2 separate regions of the Homo sapiens genome follow, and region 2 is linked to region 1. Evidence: promoter capture Hi-C in 16 types of primary human blood cells and fetal thymus (Javierre and others, 2016). All regions are on one chromosome and are shown on one strand. Each heading gives the region's core, a stretch centred on a gene start or on the middle of the fragment in contact. The rest is flanking DNA. Distances are from core to core; before and after follow the strand shown. Region 1 holds the start of PXDC1 (PX domain containing 1). Region 2 has its middle 43 kb from the start of TGILR.

Evidence for each region. Contacts are between HindIII fragments. The CHiCAGO score rates a contact against its expected background, and 5 or more counts as called.
Region 2: a contact is called between a fragment that was not itself captured here and the fragment with the promoter of PXDC1 in region 1, in 2 of 17 cell types (total CD8 T cells and megakaryocytes). The highest score is 5.4, in total CD8 T cells.

What each region holds. Positions count from the first base shown.
Region 1 is chr6:3,748,900-3,753,952 of GRCh38, forward strand. PXDC1 (PX domain containing 1) reads right to left here and starts at 2,814. Exons shown (of 5, transcript NM_183373.4): 1 at 2,377-2,814. The coding sequence starts at 2,632. RefSeq lists silencers at 2,038-2,117, 2,868-3,107, 3,158-3,327. The HindIII fragment of the contact is 5,359 bases long and covers 1,375-5,053 here.
Region 2 is chr6:3,952,537-3,957,589 of GRCh38, forward strand. No RefSeq gene overlaps it. Among named protein-coding and RNA genes, the nearest start is that of TGILR, 43 kb to the left of the region's middle. The HindIII fragment of the contact is 2,069 bases long and covers 1,731-3,799 here.

The DNA.
Region 1 (5,053 bases), core at 1,564-4,063:
ATCTGGCTGCCTTTTGTGTTTATAGTTTGTATATCCAGATAATCTTTTTATGCAAACAATAAATCTGCATGGAAATAAGGTGCAATCTGCTTTTACATTACTGGGATATATTTTACTTGGCAAACAATTTCCCTGGACTTAAAAGGATCAAAGAAAGGGAAAGGACTTCCCTGGCGCTGCACAACAAAACTCAGGTGGTGCTGGGCAGGGACCAACTAACTGCCCCTCAGAAAACCAAGGACTAGAATGAAGGCAGGGCTTATGGTCCCGGTTCTGGTCCCAGGCTCCCCTCTTCACCCCCTCCAGGGTGTGCCAGACTGTCCCCAGCAGAGAGAGCAGCTCCAACAGTTCCACGGTGTGCTGTGAGAAAGTCCTTTACACCCAGCCGCTGGACCTCACACTCACCGCCCACCAGCCCTGCCACCATCATTCTGACCCCTATTTCTGATTTCTGTTCCCCTTGAGGTACTTGGAGGTAGCTATCATATCCCTTCTGAGCCTTTTCTCCACGGTAATCGCTCGCGTCTTCAACCTTTCTTCACTCTTTTGAGCCACTCCTGCGTGTCCACACAGCTTGTGACCGCGTAACAGACCCAGCACAACTAGGGCGACAGCAAAAGAGGCGGAGCCAGGGTGTGTGCAGGGCACGCCCCTCCCTCCTGCTCCAGGTGAGGTATTTCCACCAGCGTGGATGCAACTGAAACCACGCCCTCTTTCCACCGTCTGGCCCAACCCCAGCCAGAAGCAGCTGATGGGACGGTAACAATGACAACTGGCATTTATGGAGAACCTGCTCTTGTTAGACCCTCTACCATGCCTTTCAGTCCTCACAAACGTCAGAGACCACAAGCACAAAGTTACAGGTGGGGAGCCCCACGGGGATCCCGCTCCAACCAGCCTGCCTGGGGTCACGGAGCTCAGACGCCTGACCACAGTGAAGCTCAGGGACTCCAGTGTATTTAAGCCTCGTTCCAGGAAAGGTCATTGAATAAACCGCTGTTCCTTCACGATGCTTTCCTGATTTGGGCATTGATTTGTTAAATTTAAAATATCATAACAAACAGCAAATCCAAGGAAAACTGCTTCCATGCTTGAAATAACACCCAACTGTCTGGAGAACAGCTATAAATGTGAGGCTCTGGGGAGCAGAGGGAGGCCTGAAAGGCGGGCCTTCTCGCTCAGGGCCCCAACTCGCTGGCTGTGGGAGCCCTTCCAAAAGATGTGTCATGAGAACTAAGCTAATTATCCACGTAATTCTCACACTGGGGTTGGGGCCATCGCCAGGGGAAAGCACAGGTTATCTCAAGAACGCAGCCAGATAGGAGGCTGGGGAGACTTGGACGGGCCACCTTCTGCTTCAGTAACTTGGCCCCAAGCTTTCAGGAGGTCTCTGCTTAGAGGAGGACTGCAGAAAAGAAGGCTGCTGGGCCACTGTCCCAATGTTCCGAGCTACAGGTGGTCACCCATGGAGGGGGGTGGGACCTGCTCGGAAGTCCTCCAGTCTTCCCGCCCCTTCTCCCCTCCCGGCCCTCCCAGGCGGCCCCTCTCCTCGGCCTGCCCCCTCCACCCCGCAATTCTTCCCGTCTCAATTCCAGTCCCTCTCTCTTGCGTCCTCCCGGCTTCCACCCCCTCAGCCTGGCCTCCAAAAGAAAGATCGGGCAGAGCGGTAGGAAAAGGGAAGCCACCGCGGTTTCTGAAAACAAGAATTCCCGCGAGCCAGGACGGTCACGAGGCCGGGGAGGAGGCGGCGCAGCTGATCAAACGCGAATGGGGACCAGCCCTGGCGGGGGTGCGGGGGGGCCCTGGCTGTCCGCGGCAGCCGCGGGCGGGGCGGCCGCTCCGAGGAGGGACGGAAGGGCTGCGTGGCACCTCGCGCTCGAAGACCAGGGGCGCGCCCTCCGCGGGGAGAACTCGGGGCGGCGGCCAGACCCGACGCGACCCCCGGCTCGGACCCTGCAGTTAACTGCTCCCAGACGCTTTCCCAGTGCGCCCGCCCGCCGGCCCTCGGGAGGTACCGGGCAGGGGGCTAGGGCCGGGCCGACCCTGTGAGCCGCTCAGCCCCGGGCGCCCCCGCCCTCCTCGGAAGTGACTCGTCCTCAGGGAGAGTCCGGCGCCCGCCCTGCCGGCCTCGGCCCCTTTCCCGCCCCATTTGGCTCCTCCGCCGGGGGCGCCCCCAGGCTGGGCAGGCTGGCTCCCCGTCCCCCTAACCCCGCCGCCCGGGCACCCCTCGTCTGCGGGCGCGGGGTCCAAGTGTCCCCTGTCCAGGGCGGGCAGAAAGGAGAAGTCGCAATCTCGGTTGAAGTCTCTTCCCCGCCTCCTTCGTGCACTTCAAGGCTGCCTCGGCCCCGCGCCCCTCCCGCGTCCCCGGCCCCGCACCTTGCCGCAGCGGCCCCTGCGCCAGTTCGGACCGGTCCTCGGGAAAGGCGTCGCGCAGGCGCTGCCACAGGCGGCCCAGGTCCGCCAGGCTGCGGTGCAGGTAGAGCACGCTGCGGTCCGACCACTCCGTGCGGATCTCGAAGAACTCCTCTTCGTCGCCGCGCCGGCTGACGATGAGCCTGCGGATGCCGTTCACCCAGCAGCCGCGCACGAACATGTTCACGAGCGACGTGCCCTCAAACACCGCCGAGGCCATGTCGCACGCATGCCCCCGCCAAGGGCTCCCCAGCCCCGCCGCCCGCCCGCCCGCAGGAGGCGCGCCCCGGCCGGGGTCGTCCCGGGTCTGTCCGTGGCCGGGGTCGTCCGGGGTCGGCCCGTCACTCCAAGGAGGCTGCGTATGGCCCGCGTTCGGGGCAGCGGGGCGGCGCGGCGGCGAGTGGCTCGGGCCGGCCGGGCGCGGCTTTATAAGGCGCTTCCCATCGCGGGCGGCGCGGTAGTCGACGTCGAGGTTAGGCCGCGTCCGCCTCCCGCCCGCCTCCCGCGGAACGGGCGCCGCGGGCCGCTCTGGAAAGGAAGAGGTCCGGCTGGCCGCGCCCCCGCCGCCTCCGCAGAGACCGCGCTGCCGCGGCCACGAGAACCCCCGGAGCCGGGAGCCGGGCCGAGTCCCAAGCGCTCGCCCCCGCCTCGCGCCCCCCGCGCCTCCTCCCTCGCGGCCCCGGAGCCGCAGGTCGGTGACTGGACCAGCCGGGAAGGGAGGCGGGGCGGGCCCTGCTTGCCAGGCGCTCGGCGCAGACTTTTTTCTCTTTCCGTTTCGCGATCCTCGGGACCTCCCAGGGCTAGGAGCTGCGCGCCCCACCCGGCCCGCGAGGGGATGGCAACTACCCGGGGTCCGGAGGCGGGGCTGCGAGTGTCGGGGCGGGGGGCGCGGGCCGGGTCGAGCACCGCCCCGACGAGGGCCCAGGCCAGTCCGGCCCGCCCCGGGTTCCCTCCGTGCCTCAGGTCCCCTCCGTGCCCCGCGTCCTCCCGCGCATTCCGGTCATGCCTCAGCCGCGCCAAGGCCTGGGACACGGCCGGACAGACCGCGGGGCAGCCCTCGGAGAAGTGGGAAGAGGGGAGAAAACAGTGGCGAAAAGAAGGTCTCCTGGGAAGGAGCGCCCTGGGAAGCTGGACGCGGTGGGTGCTCTTGAGGGGCCTCAGGAGTGGACTTGGGGAAACCGCCCGCCCTGAAAACTGACTCAGCGGCGCGTTACTGAGGCCGTTCCTAGTTGGAAGAGAATTAATAGCACTTGTTTGAGAATTACAAGTTAGTTCCAGAAATGAATCGAGTGACCTCACAGCCCGTAGGCAGGGGTGGGAGAGCCAGGGTGAGCCCCTCACCTCACCCCGCCCCCGCCCCGGCAGCGCTCTGGAAAGCCTCAAAGCCCAGCGCTGCGCGGAAATGTTAGAGGCCCAAGGCAGGTGGCCTGTCTGGACTCAGACCCGACCCAGATGTCCCCCCAGGTCCCTACCACTCAGTCCCACCTGCCTCGACTCAGTCCCGACCCAGATGACCACCCCCCCCCCGCCCCCACCACGACCAACTTTTATTCCGACTGCGCCAGTGACTTGCAGATAGCATAGCTTCAAATTTCCTCACCTGGTCTGGGGCGGTGAACAGGTCAAGATGGAGAGTGTCAAGAGAGACTTTTGCTTTGTCTATGATGTTTTTATATACACTTGCTAATTAAATGAACGCATATGTTTCCTGTGTAATTTTGTATAGGGGAATAGGGGCCGTGGGAACTGGAAGTAAACAGCCAGTGTGCCAGCAGCTCTTGACTCTAGGTGGTGGGAATAAGTGCCGTTGTAACCACAGTACCAGCCCAAACGGGGCTTACTCTGTTTGTAACAATGTTGAGTTACCTTGCAGGTATAACAGAGCCAAAAACTCTTAAGTCACAAAGCCCAGGCATGCACCATAGAAAAAGATTTGATCTCTAACAAACATCCAGAACCAACTATTCGTCTCCTTGGAACGAAGAAGACTGGGACATGACTGGAACCCGAACATTCGAACTCTCAGAAGGGAAGGGTCTCTTGGCCCAGAAGATAGGGGCTAAAATCCACCTCAACATACCGTACCATAAATGGCCAAATTTGAAGGCCTTCAAACAGATCCTGCCCAGCCAACATTTCTAAGTCCTTTCCTTTGCCCTCTGCTTCCTTAGAACTTGCCCCAGACCCCAAATCAGGGAGGAAGATTTGAACCTGCCTCCTGTCTCCTTGCTGGCTGGTCTTGCAATAAAGTCTTTCTTTTCTCAAAGGCAGTACCATGGTATTGCTTCCGTGTACATTGAGCAGTGAGCCTGAGGCAGGAAAATAGGGTCAGGAGGCAGGGAACATAAGGCCAATTCACACTTCGGCTGTAACAGGAAATATCCACTCCATAGGGCGTATGCTGTAAGTGACTTTGTAACTTTACTTCATCCTCTGCATTTACGTAGAGGGTAAGTGAAGTAAACAATGGAATCATCTAGGGGATATTTAAACTTCCAAAAATTCTGTAACGGGGCCTTTGAGCCCCTATGTTCGGGCCGCTCCCACACTGTGGAATGTAATTTCGTTTTCAATAAATCCCTTCATTCCTTCCTTGCTTTGTTTGTGCGTTTTGTCCAATTCTTTGTTCAAGATGCCAAGA
Region 2 (5,053 bases), core at 1,515-4,014, 200 kb after region 1:
CCTGTTGGCCACAAGTATGTCTTCTTTTGAAAAGTATCTATTCATGTATTTCGTCCACTTTTTAATGGGGCTGTTTGGTTTTTATTTGTTAATTTAAGTTGCTTATAGATACTGGATATTAAATCTTTGTCAGATGCATAGTTTGCAAATATTTTCTCCCATTCTGTAGGTTGCCTGTTCACTCTGTTGATGTTTTCCTTTGCTGTGCAGAAGCTTTTTGGTTTAATTAGATCCCATTTGTCAATTTTTCCTGTTGTTGCAATTGCTTTTGGTGTCTTCATCATGAAATATTTGCCTGTTGCTATATACAGAATGGTATTGCCTAGGTTGTCTTCCAGGGCTTTTATAGTTTGGGGATGTTACATTTAAGTCTTTAATCCATCTTGAGTTGATTTTTTTATATGGTGTAAGGAAGGGGTCCAGTTTCAATCTTTTGCATATGGTTAGCAAGTTATCCCAGCACAATGTATGGAATAGAGAATCCTTTCCTCACTGCTTGTTTTTGTTTGCTTTGTCAAAGATCAGATGGTTGTAGGTGTGCAGCCTGCAGCCTTATTTCTGGGCTTTCTATTCTGCTCCATTGGTCTATGTATCTGTGTTTGTACCAATATACCATGCTGTTTTGGTTGCTGTAGCCCTGTAGTATAGTTGAAGTCAGGTAGCATGATACCTTCAGCTTTGTTTCTTTTTTTTCTTTTTTCTTTTTTTTTTTTTTTTTTTTTTTTTTTTTTTTTTTTTTTGCTTCAGATTGCCTTAGCTATTTGGGCTCTTTTTTGGTTCCATATGAATTTTAAAAGTTTTTTCTAGTTCTTTGAAGAATGTCATTGGTAGTTTGATAGGAATAGCAATGAATCTATAAATTGCTTTGGGCAGTATGGCCATTTTAATGATATTGATTCTTCCTATCCATGAGCATAGAATGTTGTTCCATTTGTTTGTGTCATCTCTGACTTCTTTGAGAAGCATTTTGTAGTTCTCCTTATAGAGCTCTTTCACCTCCCTGGTTAGCTGCCTTCCTAGGTATTTTTTGTGTGTGTGCCAATTGCGAATGGGATTGCATTCCTGATTTGGCTGTTGGCTTGACTGTTGTTACTGTATAGGAATGCTAGTGACTTTAGTACATGGATTTTGTATTCTGAGACTTTGTTGAAGTTGTTTATCAGCTTAAGGAGTTTTTGGGCTGAGACTATAGGGTTTTCTAGATATAGAATCATGTCATCTGCAAACAGGGACAGTTTGACTTCTCTTCCGATTTGGATGCCCTTTCTTTCTTTCTCTTGCCTGGTTGCTCTGGCTTGTTCTTCCAATACAATGTTGAATAGGAGTGGTGAGAGCGGGCATCCTTCTCTTATGCCAGTTCTCGAGGGGAATGATTCCAGCTTTTCCCCATTCAGTATGATGTTGTCTGTAGGTTTATCATGGATGGCTCTTATTATTTTGAGATATGTTCCTTCAATACCTCGTTTATTGAGTTTTTGACATGAAAGGGTATTGAATTTTATCAAAAGCCTTTTCTGCATATATTGAGATAATCATGTGGTTTTTGTCTTTAGTTCTGTTTATGAGATAAGTCACATTTATTGATTTGAGTATGTTAAATCAACCTTTTACCCCAGGGATAAACCCTACTTGATCGTGATGAATAAGCTTCTTGATGTGCTGTTGGATTTGGTTTGCCTGCATTTTGTTGAGGATTTTTGCATGGATGTTCATCAAGAATACTGGCCTTAAGCTTTATTTTTTTGTGGTGTCTCTGCCAGGTTTTGGTGTCAGAATAATGCTAGCCTCATAGAAAAAGTGAGGGAGGAGTCTCTCCTCAATTTTTTTGAATAGTTTCAGTAGGAATGATACCGCTTCTTCTTATACATCTGGTAGTATCTGGCTGTGAATCTATCTTGGACTGGCCTTTTTGTAGTCAGTAGGCTATTTATTACTGATTTAATTTCAGAGTCTGTTCAGGGATTCAATTTCTTCCTGCTTTCGTCTTGGGAGGGTATATGTGTCCAGGAATTTATCCATTTATTCTAGATTTTCTAGTTTGTATGCATAGAGGTGATAAACAGGAATTCTTAATTTGAATGTAGTCCAATTCGCCAATCTCTTTCTTTATAAGTACTGTTTTTTTTTGGTGATCTGTTTAAGAAATCTTCCTCTAACTTGATATTATAAAAATAATGTATCTTCTCTTATGTGCTATTTGTTAAACATTCATATTCTTTTTTTTTTTTTTTTTTTTTTTTTTTTTTTTGAGATGGAGTCTCTGTCTCCCAGGCTGGAGTGCAGTGGTGCAATCTTGGCTGACTGCAATCTCCACTTCCATGGTTCAAGCAATTCTTGTACCTCAGCCTTCTGAGTAACTGAGGCCACAGATACGCCACCACACTCCCCTAATTTTTGTATTTTTAGTAGAGAAAGAGTTTTGCCATGTTGGACAGGCTGGTCTCAAACTACTGGACTCAAGCAATCTGCCTGCTTCTGCCTCCCAAAGTTTTGGGATTACAGGCATGAGCCACTGTGGCCCACCTAAACATTTATTTTTAAAGTTACTTTCTGAAATTGATTGTTGTAGATGGTATATGTTCCAAGGTTTTCTTTTTTTTATATAGTTGTTCAAATGACTTTGCACCATTACTTTTTTAAATGTATTTTTTTCACTAGTCTACCATACTTTCTTTTTTCTTTTTCTTTTTTTTTTTTTTTTTTTTTTTTAGCCAGAATGTTGCTCTTATTGCCCAGGCTGGAGTGCAATGGCACGATCTTGGCTAACTGCAACCTCCACCTCCTGGGTTCAAGTGATTCTCCTGCCTCAGCCTCCCGAGTAGCTGGGATTACAGGTGCGTGCCACCACGCCTGGCTAATTTTTTGTATTTTTAGTAGAGACGGGGTTTCACCATGTTGGCCATGCTAGTCTCGAACTCCTGACCTCCGATGATCCACCCGCTTTGGCCTCCCAAAGTGCTGGGCTTACAGGCATGAGCCACCGTGCCCGGCTTACAATACTTTTTTTTTTTTTTTTTGAGACAGAGTATCACTCTGTCGCCTAGGCTGGGGTGCAGTGGCGCGATCTCGACTCACTGCAATATCTGCTTCCCGGGTTCAAGCAATTTTCCTGCCTCAGCCTTTTGAGAAGCTGGGATTGCAGGCGCCCACCACCATGCCCGTCTAATTTTTGTGTCTTTTAGTAGGGATGAGTTTTCACCATGTTGGCCAGGCTGGTCTTGAACTCCTGACCTCACGTGATCAGCCCACCTCAGCCTCTCAAAGTGCTGGGATTACAGGCATGAGCCACCGGCCAATACTTTCTTTGTCATAGATCACATACCTACATATGTGTGGCTCTGTTTTTGGACTTTGATTTTTCCATTGCTCTCTTTTCTATTCTTGTTTCAATGTTACTGTGTTAATTCTTGTGGCTTTATATTAAGTCTTAGTTTCTCTCGAGTGCTTTATTTTTTAGTTCTTTAAGGATGTCTTGGCTTTTCTTGGCCTTTTGCGTCTTGCATAAATTTTAGAATCAGGTTGCTAATTTGCTGAGAGTAGCAAGAAGGAGTGCCCCATTCATGGCCTTGTACTTTGAGGATTTTAATGGGTTGCAAGGAACTCATTTTGTGAGCAGCGATGAATCTGCTTCAGATAAAGTAAATCAGAGCTGGAGGTAGGGCAGGGTTCTTCATGCTAGCCTGGGGCTGCATAACTCAATGAACACTGGCTGAGGCAACAATGGGTCTTTTGTGATGAAACTGGTACCTACTCAGGCTATGGGGCCTGAGGTTTCATCATACATCATTGGGTTTATTAAAGCTTAAAAGTGATCTAATAATTAACATGCCAGCTACTAGTTATTTGTTGAGTTTTTTTCCTTTTTAGTCAGGGAAAATGAGAGTGAGGGAAAAGGAAAAGGAAGCAACCCTAAGGGGCAACAAGACCATTAATTATTACAAATATCAATAGGACACAAATGACCCTTTGTCTCTCAGGCTGGAGTGCGGTGGCGCGATCACAGCTCACTGCAGCCTCGACTTCCCAGTCTCAAATGATCCTCCTACCTCAGCCTCCTGAGTAGCTGGGACCACAGGTGCACATCATTATGCCCTACCAATTTTTAAATTTGTTATAGAGATGAGGTCTCCCTATGTTTGCCAGGCTGGTCTTGAACTCCTGGCCTCAAGTGATCTCCTGCCTTGGCCTCCCAAAGTGCTGAGATTACAGGCATGAGCCACTACACCTGACCCAAATGGGTAATTTAGTTGCATAAGGTCTTTCCTTCATAATCTAATTAGAAAACTTTGGGGCAGGACTCCAAGGCTTACTTTTGACCCTCATTCCACTCCTGCCCTACTCTTCATTGTTCTAAAAAATGGAAAAACAGGTTGATTACATATACTATTTAAGTTCCATGAAAGCAAGAAATGTGTCTATCTGGTTCACTGATGTATCTCCAGGGCTTAGAACAGTGCCCGGTGCATAGTTGATTCTCAATAAATATCAATGGAATAAATAAAATGTTCCACATTGCCTTGCTTCAAACTTCTAAAAAAATTAATAATAGCTTCTAACTAACCGCGACTTCTGGTAAACTTCATACCAGTTGCCCTTGTGTTACGTATTTGTTTTTAAAACAGCAATTCATTTATCTAGGTTTATGAAAAAATGAAAATAAACACTATGTTGTGGGGGCCCACTTGTTCAGTGTCCAGTGATATCAAACAACCTTAAATTCTAACCATAAATTATTTTGATAATATGTGTAAACATTCTGTTAGCCAAATGTGTCTATTAATCCAGGCTTTGCAGGCTTAACCCAAACAATTTGAGCAGGTGAAAGAAACAAGCCAACTAGACAGACTTCTCAATACTGAGGCAAGGACATGCTTCAGAGACGTAGATCACAGGGTTGAAGGGCACCCTCCTAGGAAACACCTCCCACCCCACCTTTTCAGGCATCAGTTTCTGCCTCTGTTGATTCAGAGAAGAGTTCCCAGTGGTGTGACTCAGACAGGCCCTCTGAGAAAGTAGACTGTGCCTTCTCACTGTCCAGGCTCCAGGAGGAGGT